Regions from separate parts of the Homo sapiens genome. Here region 1 is linked to region 2. Evidence: promoter capture Hi-C in 16 types of primary human blood cells and fetal thymus (Javierre and others, 2016). All regions are on one chromosome and are shown on one strand. Each heading gives the region's core, a stretch centred on a gene start or on the middle of the fragment in contact. The rest is flanking DNA. Distances are from core to core; before and after follow the strand shown. Region 1 overlaps COL17A1 (collagen type XVII alpha 1 chain). Region 2 holds the start of SLK (STE20 like kinase).

Evidence for each region. The method cuts DNA at HindIII sites, captures the fragments that hold promoters and counts their contacts. A CHiCAGO score of 5 or more calls a contact.
Region 1: a fragment that was not itself captured here is called in contact with the fragment with the promoter of SLK in region 2 in 1 of 17 cell types (activated CD4 T cells); the score reaches 5.0 in activated CD4 T cells.

Annotation. Positions count from the first base shown.
Region 1 is chr10:104,074,453-104,080,368 of GRCh38, forward strand. COL17A1 (collagen type XVII alpha 1 chain) reads right to left here. Exons shown (of 56, transcript NM_000494.4): 3 at 4,090-4,134; 4 at 2,970-3,074; 5 at 1,849-1,977. Among named protein-coding and RNA genes, the nearest start is that of COL17A1, 8.5 kb to the right of the region's middle. The HindIII fragment of the contact is 3,859 bases long and covers 1-3,687 here.
Region 2 is chr10:103,962,543-103,968,651 of GRCh38, forward strand. It overlaps SLK (STE20 like kinase), which reads left to right and starts at 4,598. Exons shown (of 19, transcript NM_014720.4): 1 at 4,598-5,353. The coding sequence starts at 5,204. It overlaps LOC102724351 (a long non-coding RNA gene), which reads right to left and starts at 4,503. Exons shown (of 5, transcript XR_007062282.1): 1 at 3,239-4,503. RefSeq lists silencers at 4,460-4,919, 4,960-5,009, 5,020-5,119. The HindIII fragment of the contact is 5,644 bases long and covers 1,434-6,109 here.

The DNA.
Region 1 (5,916 bases), core at 508-3,007, 110 kb after region 2:
ACCTACTTCAGATGAGGCAGGGATGAACAAAGGAGAGCAGGAGGTTTTGGTTTCTTTCTTTTTTGTTCAGTTCCTCCACCGGCTTGTCCTGTGTCTGTCCTAGAGCAAGTGACCTGCCCTGATCAAGTAACCTGCCCTCAGCACCAGGAACCTCTCTGACCTTATGAGGCTTGTCCCAAACGTGGACCCAGTTAAAATGAAGGTACAAATCCCTGGTCAGGCCCGACCTCAGAAAGCACTGTGATGATGCAATCCACCTCACCTGGATTTGGGGCTTCCCAACAGCCCAGCAGCTCTTGTCCTGCAGCGGCAGGAGGGAGTCTGCTGTGCGTGTGGGATGCTAGCCCGCTGTGATCATTCACTAGAGTGTCTGGGCCTTACTCCTGCTTCTCCAACACCAGCACCAATCTCTTCTCACTGTTAAACTCCTTGGCCACCTGGCTGGTCAGTTTCCCACATAAAACTGCTTCTGCAGATCACCAGGAACTCCAGGAACCTTAGTAATGGAACTCAGGTGTCTTCTTCTACGACTCCTTCTTGACCCTGAGCACTCTCTTGTGTTGACCTCAGCATTGCTGTATGTTCCTGGTCTCCCCTTGTCCCTAAAAGACTCTTCCTCCTCTCTCTGTTCTCTGGCTTTTCTTTCTCCTTATTCCCTCCGCTTTACCTTCCTTTGCTTCCTTCAACTTTTATACTCTCTTTCTTGGCAAACTCCTTTAGTCTTCTGACTTCCTCTAACACCTCTTTGCGAATGGCTTCCACCTGGGTATCTGGGCCCTGACTTCTTCCCTGAACTCAAATCCTGCATCACCCACTGCCTGCTTGCTACCCTCGCCAGAGAGCTGGGCAAGTGGCTGTGCTTCAGGATGAATTAGCTGGATTCATCAAGTGGAGTCATCCATCTAATTCCCTGTTTCAGTTGTTGGCACCACCAAGAACCCAACCTGTGTGTGAAGCCTTCTCCTTACATTTAATCAATTGCCAAACCTGTCAATTCCACCTCAGTGATAACTTTCACTTCTAGCTCCTGACCTCCATCATTACCAACCTGGTCCCAGCCAAAATGTCCCTTCTCTGGATGACCGAGGATTTCTTTTTAACTTGTCACTGTGTTTAGTCTCTTTCTCACCAATTTTTCCAACACATGGCTTCCAGAGTTCCAGTCCTGGACCTAAAATATGATTGTTTTGCTAAAAACTCTCTGTGGCTTCCCATTGCATATGGAATAAAGTCTAAACATCTTATCCTAGCACTGAATCTGAGTCCCTCAAACCTTTTGCACGTAAGTACCACTGAATTTCCGACTTAAGCCCTGGGCTCTCCTGGCTGTCTTTGCTTATGCTGCTGCTCCCACAGCTTGGACAGTCCCATCTCTCCATCTTTGGGTATCAAACTCTTACTCGTCATGAGGACCTCGCTCAGATGTCCCCTCCTCCATAGAATTTTCCCCGATTTCCTCAGCTTAAAGTGATAATCTCCATCTACTTTATACAATTGTATTTTATCTGTCATCTTAACTTGTCTATTAGACTACAGGTCCTGAAGACAAGATCTATGTCTGATTCATTTAAGCATTCGTCAAGGCATTCTACACAGTGTTAAACGCATAGCAGGTACTGGATAAAATACTAGTTGGAAAAGTAACTAAATGGGTGAATGAATAAATAAATGAGGTAGTGAATGAATGAATGAAGTCTTCAAGTAATGGAAGTCCATAAAAGAAATGAAGGAGGAGTGGGGAGAAAGGTGAAGGGCAGACACAGGTGGCCAGCATGTAAATCTTCAAAGAATGAGTGAAGTTGCTTGGGGAAGAGAATGGTTCTCTTGTATGGTTAGTGGGACTGATACCTTCATACGCATGGCGGGTAACGTGAGTTTTCCTTTCAAAGGTTGAGCCTGGGGAGTTGGGCAGAGTGGAGGCAGGTGAGTGAGCCCTCCTGTAACTAGAGGTGGAGGCATGGCCTCGTGTGCTTCCAGCTGCAAGAGGGAAAAAGCATAAGTTCTCAGTGCTTCAGCAGAGAGGTGAACCAAATGGCTACTGTGACCCAGCTATATTAACCAAGTACACTCAGGGAGGGTCTTCGGGAGGGCACAGCTGAAAGGGGCCACCTCAGCATTCCCCCAGCTGTTCACAAATGGAAAGGTGGAATTATTGCCTGGGAACGTCCTTCCTGTGCATGGTTACCATGCATGGAAATGGAAAGGATTTGGCAGGATTTTTCTTGTAGACACTGCTTGGATGGACTAGAATATAATCCAGCGTGGAAGTGTGCCTCAACAGGTAAGGGCAGGTGTTTCTTTTGGTCAACCTGGCTGTTCTAATGTCTTGGGGCTTCCTTTTTAGTCTTACTTCCAAGTATTTTAAATGGCTTCAGGGGCTATCTGGGTGCTTCTTGTTTTTGTTTTGTTTTTGCCTTGCTTTGCTTTGTTTTGTTTTAGTTTGAAAGAGTGCTTCACTGGGAACAATGGGCCTGTGTTGGATGCTTGCCCAGTGGAATCTTGCACAGCATGGGATCACATGTCACCAGCTTCCCTTAGCACAGTAACCCAATCGTTAAGTTTCTTTCGTTGTTAATTCAAATTGTAAACCCTCAGGCGTGCACATTGTTCTCTAAAGAGATGGCTTAAAGGGAGTGATTTAGTGAGGAAATAGCTACCTACCCATGAAGTCTTAATTAATGATAGTTATTTATATTGTGGACTTAATGAAAATGGATCTGATTTTAAGTAGGCTTCAAATGCTGATGATTTATAATTTGCACCCCCGGTCTCCAGCCCTGCTGCCCAATAGCTGTGTGTTATTTAGATAACTCTCAGGGGGATTTGGAATGGATGACAGGTGATTGTAATTGTCCCTTTTGTGCACTGATTCAAAATTGTGTCTGCCCTGTGTCCTGTGTAGGACTTTCTTGGTGTCTCTCTCTTTGTCACCCATTCTTCCCTGACCTCTTGCACTAGTGGGCACTCACTTGAGTTTATGTAGCCGCTGCTGCCATGAGTCAGGCTTTGTTTCTCCAGCCGGCTCCCTCCACCAAGAGAGGCTGTTTTAGCATAGCCATTGCTGGTCCCGCCTTCTGCCAGGAACAAAAGCAGGTGATAATTTCAGGGTGGAGTCAGGCCAGAGGATCCCCTGGTCCCCCACCCTGTGGAAGGCTTCCCTGGTTTTTCACCAGGACCTTCTTAGTTTGGGGTTCCTTTCCCACCTACATTATAAGATGCAAGCTGCCATGCTCCAGTTTCGTTGGTTTTTTGTTTTGTTTTGTTTTGTTTTGTTTTGTTTTGTTTTATACAAATATCTAGAGTGAGTATTCCACCTGATTTAAAAGAAAAGTCTCCTGGGTGGAATATAGCAAGTTGCATATTAGGAAATTTTAAATAGTAGAAAAGGCTGAGCGATGAAAGCTCCTTGAGTCCAGGACCTGGTTGGGCTTGCTTTTTCTGAGTGCCTGGTCAGTGCCCAGGCATGGCAGCCACTAGAAGTGCTGGAGGGGCGTGTGGCAGCTCTGTGTTGCTGGTGTTCCACCTGGCAGCCCATCACTGCTCCGACTTCACCTGCTGGTGGGTGGGCTCTCCCCATCCCCAGGGAACTAGGCTCCCTGGAGGCGGGGGCAGGGGGTAGCTTTTGGGCTCAGATCAATATTACAGGAGTGATAGGAGCTCCTGGAAAAAAAAGTAGCCTCAACCAGAAGCTTGACTGGTAGCCCCCAATCCTTGTTCAGGTTAGATCAGATATCCAATATTTTAGCATCTGGAATAGGCAAATCTACAGAGACAGTAGATTTGTGGTTTCCAGGGGCTGAGGAGAGAGGAGGGAGAATGAGGAATGACTGCTAATGGTCACTTCTTTTTGTGGAGCCATGGAAATCTTCTAAAATTGGACTGTAACCATGGCTGCATAACTTGGTAAATATACTAGCAATCACTGAATTATACACTTCAAACTGGCGAATTCTGTTGTATAGAAATTAATGTCAATATAGCTGTTAAAAAAGATGTCAAAAATTTTGGAGCTCCCATGGAAAAGGTTACAGGTGTGGGGCCCTTCAAATGTGACCTACTGAAAAGAAAGCTATTGAGGTAGTTACTTACTTGGTGGTAAGGATGTAAGTCTTGTGGTTACTGTTTCAGTGACAACTAGAAAAAGACAAAGAAAAGATGAGTTCTTATGTAATGCACTGACACCTCTGGATCTTGGCAAGGTCTAAGCTCTGTCACAGGCTAAGCATATTAAATTAGGTTCGACATTGATTTTTCTATCCTTGTGCTTTAAGGTGTGTGATCTGACCCACTGTGCAAAAAGATATGAGCAACAACAATGGGTTTCATATGCTTGGAAAATAAGTTTATATCTCTTTGGAGCCAAAAGAAGTTATGCACTGCGTTTGAAACATGAGTTGTTTTGCTGTTGATGTCTCTCCTTGGACAATTAGATCCAGTCCAGGCCTGGTCTGAGGTTGAAGGAGGACCAGGCCCTCTTGTCTCAAGTCACTCCGTTTCTCTGCATTTCTCCTTCCCCATGGTCTCTCAGTTCAGCTGAGACCAACACCCTAGCTGACTTCACTGTGTACTTCTTCATGAATTTGGAGGTGTTTAAGAACATTATGTTTCGTTCTAATGTCTTCAGGGCAACCCCTGAATGTGGGGAGTTGTGGGAAGGAAGGGTGCTCCTGGTAAGTCACATTTGGGGTTTGGCAAAATCAGTGATCCAGGCACATCACAGACAGACTTGAAGAACCAGTCCCTTGGCCTCTGAAATTTAGTTCCTGTAGGTCTGAGAGATGGTGAATCCATCACTCATGCTCTGACTGTGGCCCTCAGCACTACCTCCGTCTCTGGTGGGTATACAGAAGACCCTACCTATCTGGGGCTTTTGTTCTTTGATATCAGGTTTCCAGTGTGCTTGTATGCATGCATGCATGTGTGTATGTGTGCATGTATGTGTGTGTGTGTGTGGCATGCATGGGCACATACGTGTGGGGAAGGTGGTGAAAGGAGAAAAGAGTAAAGGAAGATGGTGCAGGATCATTTTGTGCTACTTTCAGCTGTGCCGCTGACACCTGCTCCATCCCACATGACTCTCATTCACACTGTCCTTCTTCATACTGCATTTTGCTAATTAGTTTGGTTGTCCTAGCAAGAAGATGCGGTTATGGACATGCCAGAAACAGTACTTAATGCATAAAAGGAAATGTTGGCTGGGCGCAGTGGCTCACGCCTGTAATCCCAACACTTTGGGAGGCCGAGGCGGGCAGATCACGAGGTCAGGAGTTTGAGACCAGCCTGGCCAACATAGTGAAACCCCGTCTCTACTAAAAACACAAAAAATTAGCTGGGTGTGGTGGTGGGCACCTGTAATCCCAGCTGCTCGGGAGGCTGAGACAGGAGAATGGCTTGAACCTGGGAGGTGGAGGTTGCAGTGAGCCAAGATTACGCCACTGCACTCCAGCCTGGGCAACAGAGCAAGACTCCGTCTCAAAAAAAAAAAAAAAGGAAATGTTTTTGTAGAGTGCAGTGGCAGCTTGATTTGAATAATAGTCCTTCAGCTTTCATTGTATAGAACCTCTCATTGTATAGACCTTTGGGATTCTTTGACACATAAAAGTGAATTATTTCCTAACTAAAACTTTCAAGTCTATGGAGCCAGAATTTTTTTTTTATTGGAGATATATGAAAGTCACAGAATAAGTGAAAGAGTTTCCTGACTTAGAGTTGGTAGGAGGAGAGTTTAAATGTTTCTGAATTTATTATTTGGGCAGTTCCACAAAATAAATTTATTTGTTTTCAATTTTCAGCGTAGAGGTCAACTATGATACAATAACTAGGATGTTATTCGTTTAGATTTCTGTTGCCCTGTACCCCTAAATTTGGAAATGATAAAATAAACTATGGTGAATTCATTTAGCAGAATCCTATCCC
Region 2 (6,109 bases), core at 3,348-5,847:
AATCCAAGCTGCTTGGGAGGCTGAGGCAGGAGAATTGCTTGAACCCAGGAGGTGGAGGTTGCAGTGAGCCGAGATCATACCACTGCACTCCAGCCTGGGTGACAGAGCAAGACTCTGCCTCAAAAAAAAAAAAAAAAAAAAAAAGATGGATAATACCTTGTTGCTATTGAGGGTGTGGTGAAATTTGACACTCTCATATGTCAACATTTTTCTTTTTCTTTTTTTCTTTTTGAGACAGGGCCTTGCTCGGTCACCCAGGCTCATGTGCAGTGGCACGATCGTGTCTCACTGCAGCCTTGACCTCCTGGGCTCAAGTGATCCTCCCTCCCGTCTCAGTCTCTCATGTAGCTGGGACTACAGGTATGAGCCACCATGTTTGGCTAATTTTTTTATTTTTTGTAGAAATGAGGGTCTCACTATATTGCCCAGGCTGGTCTGGAACTCCTGGGCTCAAGCAAACCTGCTGGCTCAGTCTCCCAAAGCGCTGAGATTAGAGGCATGAGCCACCATGTTTGGCCACCAATCTTTTTAGAGGCCAGTTAGGCAATACAGAGCAAAAACATTTTTAATATGATCTTTGACTCATCAATTCCACTTCTTGAATTGTGTCTTCAGGGAATATAATCAGACAAATACACAAAGATGCTTGTATATGCACACTAACTGTGGAATTGTTTATGATGACAAAAAAATTGGAAACTACCTAGATGCCTGTCATGCCTGTCAATACAGAAATGCTTAAATAAATTATGGTATAGTTAGACACTAGAACTCTGTGCAGCTATTAAAAAAGGATTAGACAGATCTATTTGGGATGGCTTGGAAAGATGTCAACGATCTGTATTGGATGATGCCAGTTTTATATCTTAACAGATATACATGCGGCCAGGTGCAGTGGCTAACACCTGTAATCCCAGCACTTCGGGAGGCCGAGGTGGGCAGAATACTTGAGGTCAGGAGTTTAGGGCCAGCCTGGCCAACATGGCAAAACCCTGTCTCTACTAAAAATACAAAAAATTAGCCGGGCTTGGTGGTGTGCGCCTGTGATCCCAGCTACTCAAGAGGCTGAGGAGGAGAATTGCTTGAACCCAGGTGGTGGAGGTTGCAGTGAGCCGAGATCACACCACTGCACTCCAGCCTTGGCGACAGACGGAAACTTCATCTTAAAAAATATATATATATATATATTTATATATATATATATATACACACATACACATACATACACACAGAAAAAAACATATATAGGCCTAACTTTTTCAAAGTAGCTTTATTGAGGTATAATTTACAAAGCATATAATTCACCCATTCTAAGTGTAAAATCATCACCATAATCTAGTTATAAAACCCTTTTTTATTGTCCCCCAAAATTCTCTCATGCTCATGGGCTTAACTTTTTTTATTTGGCCATGTATTATGTTATTAAAAGGAAAAGCTTTTACAAGAGGCTCATTTCCATTTCTTTTTTTCATAATATATGAAAAAATTTATGATAATATTTCTATTTCTTTTTTTTTTTTTTTGAGACAGGGTCTAGCTCTGTCGCCCAGGTGAAGTGCAGTGGCACGATCTCAGGTCACTGCAACCTCCGCCTCCCAGGTTCAAGCGATTCTCCTGCCTCAGCCTCCCGAGTAGCTGGGATTACAGATGCATGACACCACACCCGGCTAATTTTTGTATTTTTGTTAGAGACGGGGTATTGCCATGTTGGCCATGCTCATCTCAAACTCCTGACCTGAGGTGATCCACCCACCTCAGCCTCTCAAATTGCTGGGATTACAGGTGTGAGCCCCCGTGCCCAGCCTATTTCTATTTCTTAATGGTGTCAGAACTTTATCTTTGCTTTGCTAGTGACTTTTTAAAAACCACTTATTGAATTATGATTGACATACAATAAGCTGCTCATACTTAATGTATATAACTAGATGAGCTGGGTGATAACTGTACATCACCACTGCCTATTACATAAACATATCCATCATCACAGGCTTAACTTTTAACAGTGGTTAGGTCGAGGGTAACTATGAGTAGGGGGGAAGGAAGGAGGACAGAACTATAGACAGCTTCCTAGTTTATAATTTCTGTATTATTTGAATTATTTACAACAAAAATATACTATCTTTCATTTTTATTTTTTCTTCGAGACAAGTTCTAGCTCTGTTGCCCAGGCTGACGTGCAGTGGCACAAACATGGCTCACTGCAGCCTCATCCTCTTGGGCCCAAGTGATCCTCCTGCCTCAGCCTCCCCAGTAGCTGAGACCACAGGTGAGTGCCACCATGCCCAGCTAATTTTTCTGTTTTTAATTTTTGGTAGATGTGATCTCGCCATGTTGCCCAGTCTGGTCTCAAATTCCTGGGCTCAAGAAATCCTCCCACCTCAGCCTGGGATTATAGGTGTGAGCCACCCCACCCAGCCAGTAATACACTATCTTTTAATTGACAAAATAGTAAAGTCTTTTCTATTTTGAAAAGAACAAAATAAGGAAACAGACATATACCCATTGACCGAAATCTACTTTTGGCAATTTATCCTAAGGAAATAATCAAATATGTGGAAAAAGATTTGTGTACAAAGATATTTATCCGTATTTTATTAAAAACAGAGGAATTATAATCTAAATATCTCATAATGGAAGAGAACAATTATTAATTGTATTGAAATATGCGAAGTGCAGGATGCAAACCTTTTTATGTAATACAACCTCAACCATGTTGAAAAAAGTTAATGCACAACCAAAAAAATCCTGTTTTGAAATATAAGTTCTTATCAATGGTTGTGTCTGGATAGTAGAATTATAGTACTTTTAATTTAATTTTATTTTTTAAGCATTTCATTTTCTCCATAAATGATAATAATTACAAATAATTATAGTATTGTTTTCACAGGTCTATACATTTGTCAAAACATATAAAAGTGCACACTTGCAGCAAACCACCATGGCACGTGTATACCTATGTAACAAACCTGCACGTTCTGCATGTGTATCCCAGAACTTAAAGTATAATTTTAAAAAAAAGCAAACAAGTACTAGCAAAAAAACCAAATGCACACTTTAAATATGTACAGTTTATTGTATATCAATATATTGCAATAACACTTAAAAAAATAGAAGGATCTCAAGGAATTGAATCATCTTAAGCGTCTTACTGGAAGGGGGGTTTTGCTATGCCATTTTGGGGCTGAAGGGCAAAATGACTGGGGGGGCAGACATTATATAAATAGCAATATATACATACATTGTCTCTGCTCCAGATACCGCCATTCATTCATTCATTCACCAGATCTGCCTTCCTATTATATGCCAGGAATGTTGCCGGGTACTTGGATATCTTGATGAACAACAAACCACTGGCCTGAAAGAGCTCCCGTCTGGTGGAGGAGGGGAAGGTAGGTCACCACCTGACGGATTCCAGCCAACGTCCACACTGCCCCACCAGGGAGTGCTGCCCAAGGGGGCTGGAGGCAGATCAGGAAGTGGGGGCCTTAGCTGAGGTGGAGTCACCAAGAGTGACACCAGGTTTACAGTTGTGGAGGTGGCCAGAAGTTAGTTTTACCCTCAAGGGAGTGTCGCAGTCATCAGTTGAGAAGTGGGGGCCCGGCGCGGTGGCTCACGCCAGTACTTTGGGAGGCCGAGGCGGGCGGATCACGAGGTCAGGAGATCGAGACCATCCTGGCTAACACGGTGAAACCCCGTCTCTACTAAAAATACAAAAAAATTAGCGGGGCGTGGTGGCGGGCGCCTGTAGTCCCAGCTACTCGGGAGGCTGAGGCAGGAGAATAGCGTGAAGCCGGGAGGCGGAGCTTGCGGTGAGCCTAGTTCGCGCCACTGCACTCCAGCCTGGGCGACAGATCGAGACTCCGTCTCAAAAAAAAAAAAAAAAAAAAAAAAAGAAAGAAAGAAAAAAAAGAGAAGTGGTCTTAAACAGTTTTTATGTATCTGTGTCTATCTTGCCTGCACACTTAAAACAACAAGAGTAAGAACTAAGATTGAGCGTTTACGGGTGCAGGGGCCGCGCAAAGGGCTTCCATCTATTGTCTCATTCACAACCTTCTGGTAGGGACTATTAGGATCTTCATTTTACGGCGAGGAAACCGAGGCTCGGAGAGGTCACCTGCCCAAGGTCACAGATCTCTCTCTCCAAAGCTCAAGCTCACAACCACCACACAAACTCCCCTCTCACTGTACCTGGGGCCCGTCTGAGAGCGAAAAAGTCCGCTTTCAGGTCCCAACCCTAACAGGTCCGGCTTTCACTCCACAGTTTTTCCCAGATCCAGAATGGAGACAACATCCGCTAGCACAATCAACAGGGTCGTCCCACGGGGGCCGCTCCATCAAGGCCGTGGACTGACAGGATTTGGGGCTTGGAGGGCAAATGAGAAACAATCGTCAGGGACCGAAGAACAAATGCGTCCATCACACCAGCCCCCCGCACCCCGAGCCCCGTGCTCCGCTCACGCGAACCCTCGGGGGCAGCCAGTCTGAGGGACGTAGCGCGCGTGCGCGGGGCCAGAGGGGACGCCCCCACGCGAGCGCGCGGTGAGCAGGGCGCGTGACCGGGCGGGCGCGCAGCCGGGAAAGCGCGCGGGCGCGCTACGGAGTCGGCGTCGGCGCGCGCTCCAGGCCGAGGCTGTGTGGGCTGGGGAGGGAGACAGGCGGCGGCGGCGGCGCCCCAGACCCGAGGGGACGCGCGGGCCTTGCGCCGCGGGAGCGGACGGCGGCGGAGGAGACCCTAGGCTCGCGGCCCGAGGCGGGAGGGCTCGGCTTCTCGACTGCCCGCCTCCGAGGCCGCCGGCCGCTTCTCTCTCCCAGAGTGGCCGCCGCCCCTGGAGACTCGCCGTGACACGGGCCTAAGCCGCCGCCGCGGGAGTCCTGACCGCTCGGACCCGTCGGATCAGGCCGGGTGGGAGCGAGCTTGCGGGCAGGTGCCGCTCCCGGAGGGTGGGCCGGAGGCGAGGCGCCCACCGCGCGGCTCGCGGGCCGGGCTCGGCGGAGGGGCCGCTCGCGCAGCACCCCCACCGCGGGCCGGAGCCCGGGTCGCCGCCCCGCCTTCTCCCGGGACCGCCCGGCCGGAGCTGCGGGGGCCGAGGGACGCCGCGCCCGCCGCCGCCAGCCGGGCTCGCGCGGGAGAGCAGGGAAGAGAAACTTTGCCTTTTATTGTTTTTAGTCCTTAAGTGCAAGGAACTCTGTGTTGGGAGGAAAAATGTCCTTCTTCAATTTCCGTAAGATCTTCAAGTTGGGGAGCGAGAAGAAGAAGAAGCAGTACGAACACGTGAAGAGGGACCTGAACCCCGAAGACTTTTGGGAGATTATAGGAGAACTGGGCGACGGAGCCTTTGGGAAAGTGTACAAGGTAAGAGGGGGAAAACGGGAAGTTGTACTGCGAAGGTAAAACAGCCACTGGCCTGGAGTGGCGGGAGGACTTCTGCTCCCCTGGTCCTTATCCTGTCCTTCTTTTGACTGTTACGGTTCGATGCAACTTTACTTGGCTGATCATCCAAGGAGTAGCTAAGAAGTCGGGTTTACGGTGGAACAAAATGGGGCCTGGATGGAGTTTAAAGAGCGATTGGAAAAGGAGACAGGGTTATAAAGTCTACTCTTTCAAACTTCAAAGGAAATGAGAGTGTTCTTTAATTTATAGGAGGGGTCTGGTTGTGCCCTTCAAGTATTTTAGAATGAGAAACTCATTGCACTTTGCAGTGGATTTGTCTACTGACTGCATTCGCGTGCATGCTTGTACTCCAACAGTTCTGTTTTTAGGGTCCAGTATATATATTTGGTTGTATCTAGAGCTAATACAGAACTAGTTGGGATCAAAGTGATTGCTACTTGCAGTCTCTTCTTGAGTTAGTTGCTTGACAGCATACTATAAAATAGAATGGAATTTCTGACAAAATTTCCAAAAAACCTTCATGTGGTACTAGTTTTAAATATATTTATGGTAAGCATTGACTAGAAGTCAGTATCAGCGCTTAAGCAGTTAAAAACACACACGCATGTATTTATTTCAATAGAAAGAGGCTTGGCGTTTCAACCTGAAGGCATTAATGTTAACTATTTAATATCTCCTAAGGAACATATGAATGATGTCATTGGAGTATTTTCATCC